Linked DNA regions of Homo sapiens: regions 1, 2 and 4 are each linked to region 3. The links are contacts of gene promoters, found by promoter capture Hi-C in blood cells and fetal thymus (Javierre and others, 2016). All regions are on one chromosome and are shown on one strand. Each heading gives the region's core, a stretch centred on a gene start or on the middle of the fragment in contact. The rest is flanking DNA. Distances are from core to core; before and after follow the strand shown. Region 1 overlaps LINC00882 (long intergenic non-protein coding RNA 882). Region 2 overlaps LINC00882 (long intergenic non-protein coding RNA 882). Region 3 holds the start of BBX (BBX high mobility group box domain containing). Region 4 overlaps DUBR (DPPA2 upstream binding RNA).

Region 1 (2,999 bases), core at 283-2,782, 310 kb after region 3:
AGTTTGCTGTCATGGCTGGGCGTGGTGGCTCACGCCTGTAATCCCAGTACTTTGGGAGGCTGAGTCAGGTGGATCACTTGAGGTCAGGAGTTCGAGACCAGCCTGGCCAACATGGTGAAACCCTGTCTTTACTAAAAATACAAAAATTAGCTGGCCTGGTAGTGGGTACCTGTAATCTCAGCTACTTGGGAGGCTGAGGCAGGAGAATTGCTTGAACCCAGGAGGCAAAAGTTGCAGTGAGCCAAGATTGCGCCACTGCCCTCCAGCCTGGGCCACACAGTGATACTCTATCGCCAAAAAAAAAAAAAAAAAAAAAAAGCTTGCTGTCATGTGGGTGCAACTTGTGGTGCCCCAAAGCAATTACAGTAGTAACATCAAAGATCGCTGATCACAGGTCACCACAACATATATAATTGTAATGAAAATATTTGAAATATTTTGAGAATTACTGAAGTGTGACACAGAGACACGAAGTGAGCACGTGCAGTTGGAAAGTTTGTGCTGATAGACTTGCTCGACGCAGGTTTGCTGCAAAACTCCAATTGTAAAAAAACAAAAAATGTTATTATCTGTGAAGAGCAGTAAAAGGAAGGGCAATGAAGTGAGGTATGCCTGTACTAGAGTTTGTTTGTGTGTTTCTGCCCAAATGGTTGAATGCTGTTCTGATTGTATTTGGCATCGAGCTAATCAGAGCTGTCGTAAGGGGAACTATGGTTTTGGAGTTTGTTGTGCTTGGCAATTCTAAGGAAAGTAGCCATTAGAGCAGAAGAAAGTGACCTTACAAACTGATGCTAAAAATATCCCCGGTCTACATAAAGAAAATACACACAAACCTCTCATAGCCTTTCTTAAAGAAAGAGTAGAGTTACCTTTCCTAGATATCAAACATTCAGTCTCTATACTGTCCTTTGGTGATGGGATTTTTTTCTCTGCCAATCTGCATTCACTGCTTATTTTAAACTTTGGAAATGAGCAAGCGAGGGCTGAGAGTGAAGAAGCTGAACACATAGCAACATTTATGTGGTTTTGTGCACCATCAAGTAACAAACTGTAGCTTTTGGATCTCTGGACATCTACTTTTGCACTGTAATAAAATAATTCTAGGGCACAATTTCAAGTTATAGGACAATGATACTCTGTGAGTTTCAACAAGAGGGGAAAATGAAAAAGGATGTTTTTAAGTGAGGGTAGAAACACTTTCAAAATGAATGAAACTCTTTGAATTACAGTGTACTGTGACATAAAGAAACAGTTGTGGGTCAACTTCAAAATTCTGGTGTTTTCATCTCTCGGAATTTCTTGGCAGTGTCTCCCACTTGAAGGTTTATAGTGAGTATAATGTACCATTTCTACTGATCAAAGAAAGTTACTTGGTGTCAAAAAGCTACTTGGGAACCAGCCTGATTACTGGGTTATTTCTTAATGAGTTCTGGCACATGGTTCTCATCTTTTTAAGAGGGAAAAGTGTAACTCGGCAGCACCAAGTGGAAACATAAGCATTTTGGCAAGTGTGGAGATGCAGCACAGCTGGATAAAAACTCCCTGCTTTGAAATCTCGTATCTCAAATGCTACATCCATTTTTAAGCACATTGCACTGTCAGTTCAGGTTTCAATATGAACAGGAACTGGGGCCATTCAATGATATAGTAATAAATCAAAGATTGGGATCTATTCACTGGATTGCTTGCGCTCTCTTTTTTTTCTTCACAAGTAATTTGTGAGGACAACAGGTGAGGGACAATGAAGGAGGAGAATATGATGCATGGGTGTTGCGCTGTCGGCGGAAACCTTGGCAAGCAGGACACTTAAGACAGTAATTTATCCTGTGGCATGATCTTCACCTCCTGAATCAGCATTCCTCTGGTTAATCAGGGGAACACAAGGCACTGATGGTTTTTCTTTTAAAAATGCCTTTTATTTTTATTATAAAGTAATACCTGCCTATAAAATGCAGGAAATAAAGGAAAATTTAATTGGTAAAGATGTTGCCTACTGCAGCTTTCAGCTTTCCATCTTTGACACACAATTGTCCCTGTAATCCAATACAACTTGAATAAAGACCTCAGTCTCCCAAGCATACAATCTAGTCCTTCAATGGCAGTCAACAAACATACAACAAGTTGCATACCCTGAGTCAGGCACTGGACTAGGTGCTGAAAATACAAAGGGAACACAGATTTGGTCCCTGACACACAAATCTTAATGGAGAGTGGAAAATTATGAGCAATTAAACTAGTGACTAAGTCTGGGAAATTACTGGATATCTGAAGGCTGAATGAATCTGTATAAAGACTAAAAGAGAAGAAGTGTAGAAGTGGCATGTGTTTTTTCTATGAACACATGTGTTTTCTATGAATCTTGGCTTCCTCACCTGTGAAATGAGGAGGTTAGACCAGATGGTTTGCTGGATGATCAACTTGTCCCGGCTTGCTTGGTACTTTCCCAGTTTCAGCAGTGAAATGTCCTAGGAATCTTTTTAGTCTCTGTTTTAAAACTGAAAGTCCCTTGTCCTGGAGACCCCAAAGTCCTGGGAAAACTAAGAGGGTTGGCCATCCTATTTATATGGTTATTTCTAGTTCTCATATTCCATGATTGTATTTTGAGAAAGAGTACTTGAAGTTTATGATATGGCCACAGGGTAAGACAACTTAGATTGAAATATAAGTACATTAGCAGTACTATTATTATGTTTTTAATCCTAAAGTGTGATTTATTTAAACACATTTTGGGCAAAACAAGCTTTGTGTTCTAGCTTATGACAAAAACATTAGTATTGTATTTTTGGGAAAATAAGTTTTATTCTTCCAAGAAAATATCTCACAAATAAATATTTGCAAGCACTTTGCAGGGTCACAAAGTTTTATGCAAGCAGTTATCTTTGTTGTGATTCTCAGTTGTGTCCTCTAAAAGTCTGGTGTAGTGGAAAGAGTACTGGCTTTGCAGTCAGGCAATTTTTGTTCTTTTACTTACTGACCATGAGAGCTGGAGAAAATAACTC
Region 2 (2,923 bases), core at 152-2,651, 290 kb after region 3:
TAGGAACAGAGAAGGGACAAACTTTATATGTATACACAGGATTACTTTTTCCTTTTCATGATGTGTTTTATTTGGAAGCATTTACATGTTCTCTTTCTCTTTTCCTCCTTTTTTTTTTCTCCTGCACCTTTCTTTTTCTTAAGCTAAGCTGTCACAGTGAAATACTGTGACTAAGCCACAACTCATATAGAAAACTGAACGGTGCATTGTAAAATAGGACACAAAACAAAAGACTTCATCCGAGAGCTGAGATCATCACGAGTACACAGACCCACTGCAGTAATTCAACAGTGTTTCTCAGAGCCCAGGACAATTTTTTCAATTCGTGATATCCTACTGCCCCCTGCTGTTCATGTGGAAGCACTGACTACAGAAATTAAAGTTTTCATAACATTGCACAGGTTTTAGTGCAATGTTAGCGTGCTATCAAAGAAAGTTAAGTAGTTCAAAGATTTAAACAGAGTAATTTAAGGAATTGCTTTCTAAAAGGCTGAATATCAAAGAAATTACAAAGCAACTTTCTCTACTGCCTGATATGTTGAAGAGAACTCTAATCCAGTTATTTGGCTAATGAATCCGGTTTCGTTTTTAAGTTTCTGAGGGGAGCAGAGCAGAAGGCAATTGAGGTAGCTTAGAGATAAATTAGTAAAGATAGAGCAGGGAGTAGATGGAGCAAATGAAAGGCAAAATGTGCAAGAAGGAGGGGGTAATGAATAATTTACATCCTCGAGGGTAAAGCAGTTCAGTCCTGAACAGATCGTTTACATTCCTCAGGGGGGTCGGGCAGAAACGGGCTCCACGGAAAAGCCCGGATGGGCCATTTGTGAGCCTCAGCTCTTCTGCCTCCTGCTCCTGGATTTGATCATGGAAACCTCTCAGGGCAGTTAGGATGAGTTGGAGCCTCTGAAGCAGAGCAGAGGCACATCATCTTTAGAGCTGATTTCCTGGGCTTCTCTGCAATTTGTAAAGAGCTCAGGGGCTGTCTCCTGGATGTAAGTCAGCCCATGTGCAAATGCGTATGTGTGAGCATGCGAGTAGGATGTTATATGTTCCACGTTTTAGACTCTGAGGGCTGCTAGTTCCTGCATGGCAGACCTTCCCCTTGGGATTAACTAATAAGGTGCTAGCGTTCCCCGTCACTCAGCAAAAGTAGTTAGAAGCTTGGGGCCTTGCTTCAGCATTTGTTTTTTTGCTGGGACTCTTTCTCCATGAGGAACACGACTGGAGAAGAAACGTTCGATATTTAGAAAATTAAATGTATCCATGTTATGATAGATGTAGAAATCCAGTCCAAACTGCTCGTGAAAGATGTAGTTTTTGCTATAAGTACTATAGGAGTGTCACTTCTAAAACTTCCAAAGTTCCTACTTCAAAGGCACAATGATGGATTTTAAAAAATAAAACTTTGAGAAAACATTTACATGGTTTATTTCAGGTAACAATTAATAACCTGATTCCTTAATGCTTGGGGCTGTTACGTTCATAGCATTGCTTTTAGTGCTATCATTTCCTATTTCTCTTGTATGACATATTGTATTAGTCTGTTTTCATGCTAGTAATAAAGACATACCTGAGACTGGGCAATTTACAAAAGAAAGAGGTTTAATTGGACTTAAACTTCCACGTGGCAGGGGAAGCTTTACAATCATGACAGAAGGCAAGGAAGAGCAAGTCATGTCTTACGTGGATGGCAGCAAGCAAAGAGAGAGAGCTTGTGCACGGGAATTCCTCTTTTTAAAACCATTAGATCTCATGAAACTTTTTCATATCATGAGAACAGCATGGGAAAGACTTGCCCGCGTGATTCAATTACCTCCCACCAGGTCCCTCCCACAACACGTGAGAATTAAAGATGCGATTTGGGTGGGGACACAGCCAAACCATATCATTCCTCCCCTGGCTCCTCCCAAATCTCATGTCCTCACATTTCAAAATCAATCATGCCTTTTCAACAGTCCCCCAAAGTCTTAACTCATTTCAGCATTCACTCAAAAGTCCACATCTGATACAAGGCAAGTCCCTTCTGCCTATGAGCCTGTAAAATCAAAAGCAAGTTAGTTACTTCCTGGATACAATGTGGGTACAGGCATTGGGTAGCCATTCCAAATGGGAGACATTGGCCAAAAGAAAGTTGCTACAGGCCCCATGCAAGTCCGAAATCCAGCGGGGCAGTCAAATCTTAAAGCTCCAAAATGATCTTTTTTCACTCCATGTCTCACATCCAGGTCATGCTCACACAAGAGGTAGGTTCCCATGGTCTTGGGCAGCTCCGCCCCTGTGGCTTTGCAGGGTACAGCACTCCTCCTGGCTGTTTTCAGGGACTGGCCTTGAGTGTCTATGGTTTTTCCAGGCACACGGCACAAGCTGTTGGTGGATCCACCATTCTGGGGTCTGGAGGATGATGGTCCTCTTCTCACAGCTCCACTAGGCTGTGCCTCAGTAGGGACTCTGTATGGGGGCTCTGACCCCACATTTCCCTTCCACACTGCCCTAGCAGAGGTTCTCCATGAGGGCCCCACCCCTGCAGCAAACTTTTGCCTGGGCATCCAGACATTTCCATACATCTTCTGAAATCTAGGTGGAGGTTCCCAAACCTCAAATCTTGACTTGTAAGCACCCACAGGCCCAACACCACATGGAAGCTGCCCAGGTTTGGGGCTTGCACTCTCTGAAGAAACAGCCTGAGCTGTACCTTGGCCCCTATTACTCACCGCTGGAGTGCCTGGGACTCAGGGCACCAAGTCCCTAGGCTGCACACAGAATGGGGACCCTGGGCCTGGCCCAGGTAACCATTTTCTCCCAGGCCTTCTGGCCTGTGATGGGAGGGACTGCCATGAAGACCTCTGACTTGCCCTGGAGACACCTTTCCCATTGTCTTGGGGATTAACATTCAGCTCCTCGTTACTTATGCAAATTTCTGCAG
Region 3 (2,887 bases), core at 197-2,696:
AGAGGGTGAGTGAGCGAGACGAGGTGGAGGAGGAAAAGAAACCTCGAGTCTGATTTCTGTAATTTACTAGCGACCCGGATCGCAGCAAATAACAGTGTAACACGAGTGTGGCTTAAGAGGGCTAGGGAGCTCTTTCTAGAGGCATCGACCCCATCCCCGGATAAAGGATCTGCAAGTTTTCTGTCATCGCGACCAGGCAAAGCCGTAACTTACCTTCAGAAATAAGACTTTAAACGGCCAAGGCCTTCCTCCTCCCCTCCACCACCACCCTCAGCCTCGCTCTCTCCACCTTAAACTTATTGACACAACATAATCCCACATTCAAGCAAAATCCTGACACAGCCTCCCTCCTCCTCTTCCCCCTCCTCTCTTCCCTCCCGTTCTCTCTCTCCCTCTCTCTCTGTCTCCCTCTCTCCCCCCCCTTCCCTCCCTCTTCTCTCTCCCCTTCTCCCTCGCCCTCTTCCCCCTCTCCCCCTATTCTTCCTCCAGGCTACTCTGGCACTAAAACAGCACTTTCTCTACTCGCCGCGCATTTGGGTAGGGGTGGGGGGTGAGAGGGCACTGATCTGCGGGGCCGGAACACCCAAATCCCAACTCTCCAGATGAACGAGCAACTGGGCTGCTGTTCCCGGTCACCAACGCAGACGAAACGTTCAATAAATCCACCGAAGGCTGGCTCCTCGTACCTTCCTCCACTGCCCCTGCTCCCCAGGCCCCACCTCCCCGGCAGCCGAGACCAGGCAGGGCTCCACGTACTTTCGCCGAGATGAAGTTTGGGGCTCCCCGGGCGGCCACGAGCCGCCCGCCGGCGTGAGGGCTCTGTTGTTGTTTTCCTGGGGCCGCTCCAGCCCGCGCCCCGGCGCCCGTGCCCCTCTCAGGCGGCGCTGCCTGTGTGCCGAGAGGTGCTGGTTGCAAACGCAGCCTGGCACCGGCTGGCCTACTACTCCCCAGCCCGGCCCCCAGCCTCCCGCTCGCAGGGCACTGCCTCAGCGCCCCCCGCCCCCCGGCCCCAGCCGGCGCGGCCGCCGCGACCCTCGCCCCCGACCTCTCCCGACCCAAAGTTTTGGCGGAGGGGGAAAGTGCCCAGGGAGCGGGCCGGCTGGCGGCGGCTCCGGACGCGCGGGGTTCCCTCCGTCTTCCTCAAGTCCACCCTACCGGCTGCCGCCGCCGCCGCCGCCGCCGCCGCCGCTGCTCCTGCCGCGGAGTCCTTGGGGCTGCAGCCCGGCGGCTCGCAAGTGAGTAGGAAAACAGAAAGTGAGGGGAGTGCGCCCAGGGAGGGCTGGGGATGGGGGGCGCCTACCTCGCGGGCTCGCCGGGCGTGAGGGCGTGTGTGTAGCTAGCCCTCAGCGGCCAGTCAGGGTTTCTCTATGGGAAAGTGGAGAGAAGCTCGCGGAGCCGCTCTGCCTCCGCTTCACTGTACACTGCTCCACATACAGTACATGCAACCCGGAGAGACTGAAAACACTCATTTTATATAAGGCAGCCTGCCATTGGCCCGCGCAGTGACGGACAGGCCGCGCAGCCAAACAAGAGGCCCGTTACACCCAAACACACGCACACATACACACATTTTACAGAGACACACAAAGATCATCACATTTTCTATTTTCTAATGTTCGGGACCTGTAGACAGTAGGAGAGGACAGGTAAAGAGGCCCAGCAGAGTGGGGTAAAGGGGAAAACCCCTGTCTGCACCAAGTTGCAAGGCTTGAAACTGGTGTCCTTTTGACTTGGGAGGGTTATGGTAATAAACTACAACTCCACTGGATATGGAAGTGAGGGGGGTTTTTCATCGCTGCCTTTTGGTGCCCCATGGAAGAGGCCTGCATTGTGTTACGATTTTACAGCCTGACCCGGCTAACAAGTGGCCAAGAAAGGCTTTTATCACCTTGGATTTCTTTTGTCAATGGGTTAGCTATCACATAGGCCAAAATAGTGCAAGATAAGTTTATCAGGACTCTAATGCATTGAGGTTGTTAGTGCCTCATTCGTAGGTAGATTCAAAAAAATCAATATAACAACACACAAAGATAAACATTTTGCTGAAATAGCCAAACAACTTTTAACTGGTCAGTGGACTGCCATCACCTGTGTGGACATGCAAACTGTGCTGTTAGGTAAAATAAGTCATGGAAGATTGGCTATTGACCCTTAGCCTTCAAAACAGACCTTTGATTCAATATATACATGATTTATATTTTGCATATTATATATAAAAATATATGACTCTTTACATATTTCACATCTCATGTGAACATCATATGTTGCATGACTTTTGGAGATGATGAACCTCAGGACTGGTCTTTCTGATTGTTTTTCAACAATGCAACTTCAGAAGATTATATGAGACAGTTCAATACACATAAGTCAACAGGTTGGTGGAAAGAAGTCAAAGCTGGAAATTAGAAGGAATAAATTGTAGATTAAACTCTTTAACCAGCTGAGCAATCTTGAGCAAGTTACTTAACCTCTCCAATGCTCAGACTTGGTTTTGATTTTTAAGATTAAAATAAGAAGCTTTTCCAGATTCCCTCAATTAAATGTTTATTCAGCATCTACTATGTGTCAGGCATTATCTTAGGCCTAGATGTTTTCTTAGGGTTCCTTCCGTTTTAAGAGTTGGTGAATTATTCTCAAATACAAACATTTTGGAGATTACATAAACACTACGATTTTATGGCCTAGGTAAGTAGCTTTAAAACTTAAAGAAAACCCAACTAGGGCAACTTATTTCAGTTCCCCTTTTATTTCCTTGATGCTGTCTTAAGGTTTTTCTCTCGCATCCATAAAGTTGTTAAAAGAGTGTATGTGTGCATGTGAGCACTCCTGTGTAAGAGGGAGAAAGAGAAACAAAATCAGAAAAGTTTAAAAAGTTCAGAAAACAAAG
Region 4 (3,028 bases), core at 156-2,655, 270 kb after region 3:
AGACTTAACTTTTAAATGTATACCTTTAAGATTTTCTTGTAGAAAGATCCTTACATAAGTTTTCTAAAGCTAGAGCCTTTCTTAGTCTGCTTTCCTAACCAAGTGTGAGTGTAACAAACTTTTCACCCAAGGATGAGTTACCTGTCTCATGTAGATGGACTATGAGCAATGTAGGCCATTGCTTCATTATGTGAGATAGAATATGTTCAGTTATTTATTTACAGAATCTATGAGTGCTTGCCTATCATTGAATATGTGCAACAAATCCATAGGGTGAATGCTATGAAGCTATTTCCGTCAAGGGAAAGCTATTCACCAAATAGAGAAATCACAGCTATCATGTTTAAAGGTATACATGCATCTATAGGAAAGGAATAGGGCCTCCAGTGCACATAACATGCCATTTCTTTGTGTAGGTTGCACTGGGGAAAAATATTTTAAGAAATATAGGTAGTACTCATAGCAGATAGGAATAGCAGATCATTTGCTTCTTGCTGCTCACATTTGCTAAGACTCTTATGAAGATTTTCCCTGGGCACATGAATCAGTTTAATAATGATTGCTGCCAGTTGGTGGCTAGACATCAGACTGCCAGCCTACTCAACAGTGTTGCCATCTGCTATTTGGATTCACAGTGTGTTGCTGCTACGCACCACCTCATTAAGAACGGGACCCTTGTGAGCCATAGACAGTGGCTTATTCAAGCGAGCGAAGCAAACTCCTCCCCAAGCCAAATTTGTAGAGGCTGCATGCATCTCATCTTATGTGGAGATTGCTCTACGTTGATCATGCAGTCTGATAGCTCATTGTCTCTGATCACTTAGGTTTAATATTTCAAGCCAGCTCCTTGTTTCAAATTAGTGTCAAAATACAAATATGATTATTTCAAAGACTTGTAAAAACTACTCACTCCAATTTTTTTTGGTAATGCATTCATATCTTAAAGTGGTATTAGTCAGTGGCTTGCCAAACAAATATTTTAATAAGTTATTATAATCCACTGGGCTTTTCTGGATAGATCTTCCAGTCCTGAAGATTTTTCAGTTTTGTAGAATTCCTACTGCAGTTTTTATTTCTTGGAAATGGACTTTCAAAGGCTTTAATCATATTTTCTCTTTTCCTCTCCCGTTAAATATCTAAAAGCAGCTGGAATGCAAAACATTTGTATCTGTCAGATAGACATGAGTGCATTTTACCTGACAACCACGGATTATCTTAGAGTTTTAAACACTGTTACAGAGAAAAGAAAATTTATTTGCATAGGTCACATAATATTTAGATCCTCTCCGTAGCACCTCCATAGATAGTAGATCCTGCAGTACTTTAAGCATTAGAGTTACACATCAAAATTAAGCTAGTTTCAAATCTCAAAGGAATTCATAAGCTGAGATTTAAGTCTCGGGTACCCCTCCCCTTACTTTCCACATAGGTACTTAGTTCTCACACCTGCACTTACCAGCATCCAGAATATATTTCTTAAGGCCTACTCTTGTTAGGTACTCTATGAAAAAGGGTTTTAGGCCAGGCACAGTGGCTCACACCTGTAATCCCAGCACTTGGGAAGCCCAGGCGGGCGGATCACTTGAGGTCAGGAATTTGAGACTAGCCTCACTAACATGGTGAAACCCCCATCTACACTAAAAATACAAAAAGTTAGACAGGCGTGGTGGTGGGTACCTGTAATCCCAGCTACTCGGGAGGCTGAGGCAGGATAATTGCTTGAGCCTGGGAGGCAGAGGCTGCAGTGAGCCGAGATTGCACCACTGCACTCCCTTCCAGGTGAAAGAAGAAGCCTCTGTCAAAAAAAAAAGGGGGGCGGGGAATGGGCTTTGATGGGCAAACAAAATTAGAAAGTGGGGTGTCTCAGACAGTATTCTCCAGGATGCAGATTCTGAGATATACTTTAATTGCAGGATATTTATTAAGAAGTGCCTTTTGCCAAACATTTGTTCAAAGAGAGAGAGAAGCGGAATTGGGAGAAAATGAGTTATAATGTAGGTCCAATGACAGCCTTGGCCAACCCCACAGGGAGCTCTGGAGTTAAAACGGCCCTCGGAGATGTCCTCAGATGGGCAAGAGAACAACTTTGTATCTCCACACTGATCAATCCTTGGCTATGGGCCACTCCACAAAAAAGTGTGACCTTAGGTGAAGTGGTTTTCTACAGCTATGCCAATTCCTGAAGAGGGCTGACAGCTGCAGGCTGCCTGCTAACATCACACCCAGCAAGTGGGGAGCAAGCCGTTCTTTGAAGGGGGATCTGGGCTGCACATCATACTACTGCCACATGTAACACATCAAATCATCTCTTTTGGAGAGTTGCACTAAACATTCACATACGAATGGCTTTGAGAATCTGGCACTGAAGCAAATTTCTAATTTAATTTTTCTCCTGACATCAGTTCATATCCTATGGAACTAGTTTTCCACAGAACATAATTCGATAAACGTCTCCCTAATCTTACAGTGCCTTGCAGGCTGTTAAAAGAACTGCATATAGATGGTTTGCTCTGGGCTTGCCTGCCCTTCAACAGGGTCTATTGGTTCTGCCTGAGAACGTTGGTGTTGCTATATTAGTTAAGGACCTGCTATACAATGGCATGTATGTACTGTGATGAAATTAACCATCACACCTTCATAAGGGTCAGATGAATGAATATGTGATGGATATACTGTGATGAATATGTCATGAAATAGTGACAATTCACTAAGGCCACCAAGAATGAGCCTGTGAGAAGGTACCAGTATCACTAAGTGCAGTAGTGGCTTTACTCTTTAGACCAGGGCTGATGGTAAATGAGGTGGTCACAGAGCTGGGATTGTTAATATGATTCAGGGGTAATGGACCCTCAAGTAATAGAGGGCTCTGGAGGACTAGTGCTTAATTACCAAAAGTCAAGAGGCCATAATTACTATAACAACTGGTGAAATTGGAGGGGTAGTTAAGGGGGTTTGATTCACAGGGTGTTTAGGAGATAATTAATTGAAAGTAACACCCCTATAGGCAAAATAGATGGGCATCTAACAA

Evidence for each region. The method cuts DNA at HindIII sites, captures the fragments that hold promoters and counts their contacts. A CHiCAGO score of 5 or more calls a contact.
Region 1: a fragment that was not itself captured here is called in contact with the fragment with the promoter of BBX in region 3 in 2 of 17 cell types (endothelial precursors and megakaryocytes); the score reaches 7.4 in endothelial precursors.
Region 2: a contact is called between a fragment that was not itself captured here and the fragment with the promoter of BBX in region 3, in 10 of 17 cell types (megakaryocytes, erythroblasts, fetal thymus and 7 more). The highest score is 15.3, in megakaryocytes.
Region 4: a fragment that was not itself captured here is called in contact with the fragment with the promoter of BBX in region 3 in 4 of 17 cell types (megakaryocytes, erythroblasts, M1 macrophages and 1 more); the score reaches 9.9 in megakaryocytes.

What each region holds. Positions count from the first base shown.
Region 1 is chr3:107,211,183-107,214,181 of GRCh38, reverse strand. The region is part of intron 1 of LINC00882 (long intergenic non-protein coding RNA 882); the gene reads left to right. Among named protein-coding and RNA genes, the nearest start is that of LINC00882, 28 kb to the left of the region's middle. The HindIII fragment of the contact is 2,421 bases long and covers 322-2,742 here.
Region 2 is chr3:107,233,457-107,236,379 of GRCh38, reverse strand. All of the region lies in intron 1 of LINC00882 (long intergenic non-protein coding RNA 882), which reads left to right. Among named protein-coding and RNA genes, the nearest start is that of LINC00882, 5.7 kb to the left of the region's middle. RefSeq lists a silencer at 397-446. The HindIII fragment of the contact is 477 bases long and covers 1,163-1,639 here.
Region 3 is chr3:107,521,521-107,524,407 of GRCh38, reverse strand. BBX (BBX high mobility group box domain containing) reads right to left here and starts at 1,446. Exons shown (of 18, transcript NM_001142568.3): 1 at 1,301-1,446. RefSeq lists silencers at 770-839, 950-1,039, 1,070-1,379 and an enhancer at 1,780-1,829. The HindIII fragment of the contact is 5,936 bases long and covers 1-2,519 here.
Region 4 is chr3:107,249,661-107,252,688 of GRCh38, reverse strand. All of the region lies in intron 1 of DUBR (DPPA2 upstream binding RNA), which reads right to left. Among named protein-coding and RNA genes, the nearest start is that of DUBR, 10 kb to the right of the region's middle. The HindIII fragment of the contact is 4,555 bases long and covers 1-3,028 here.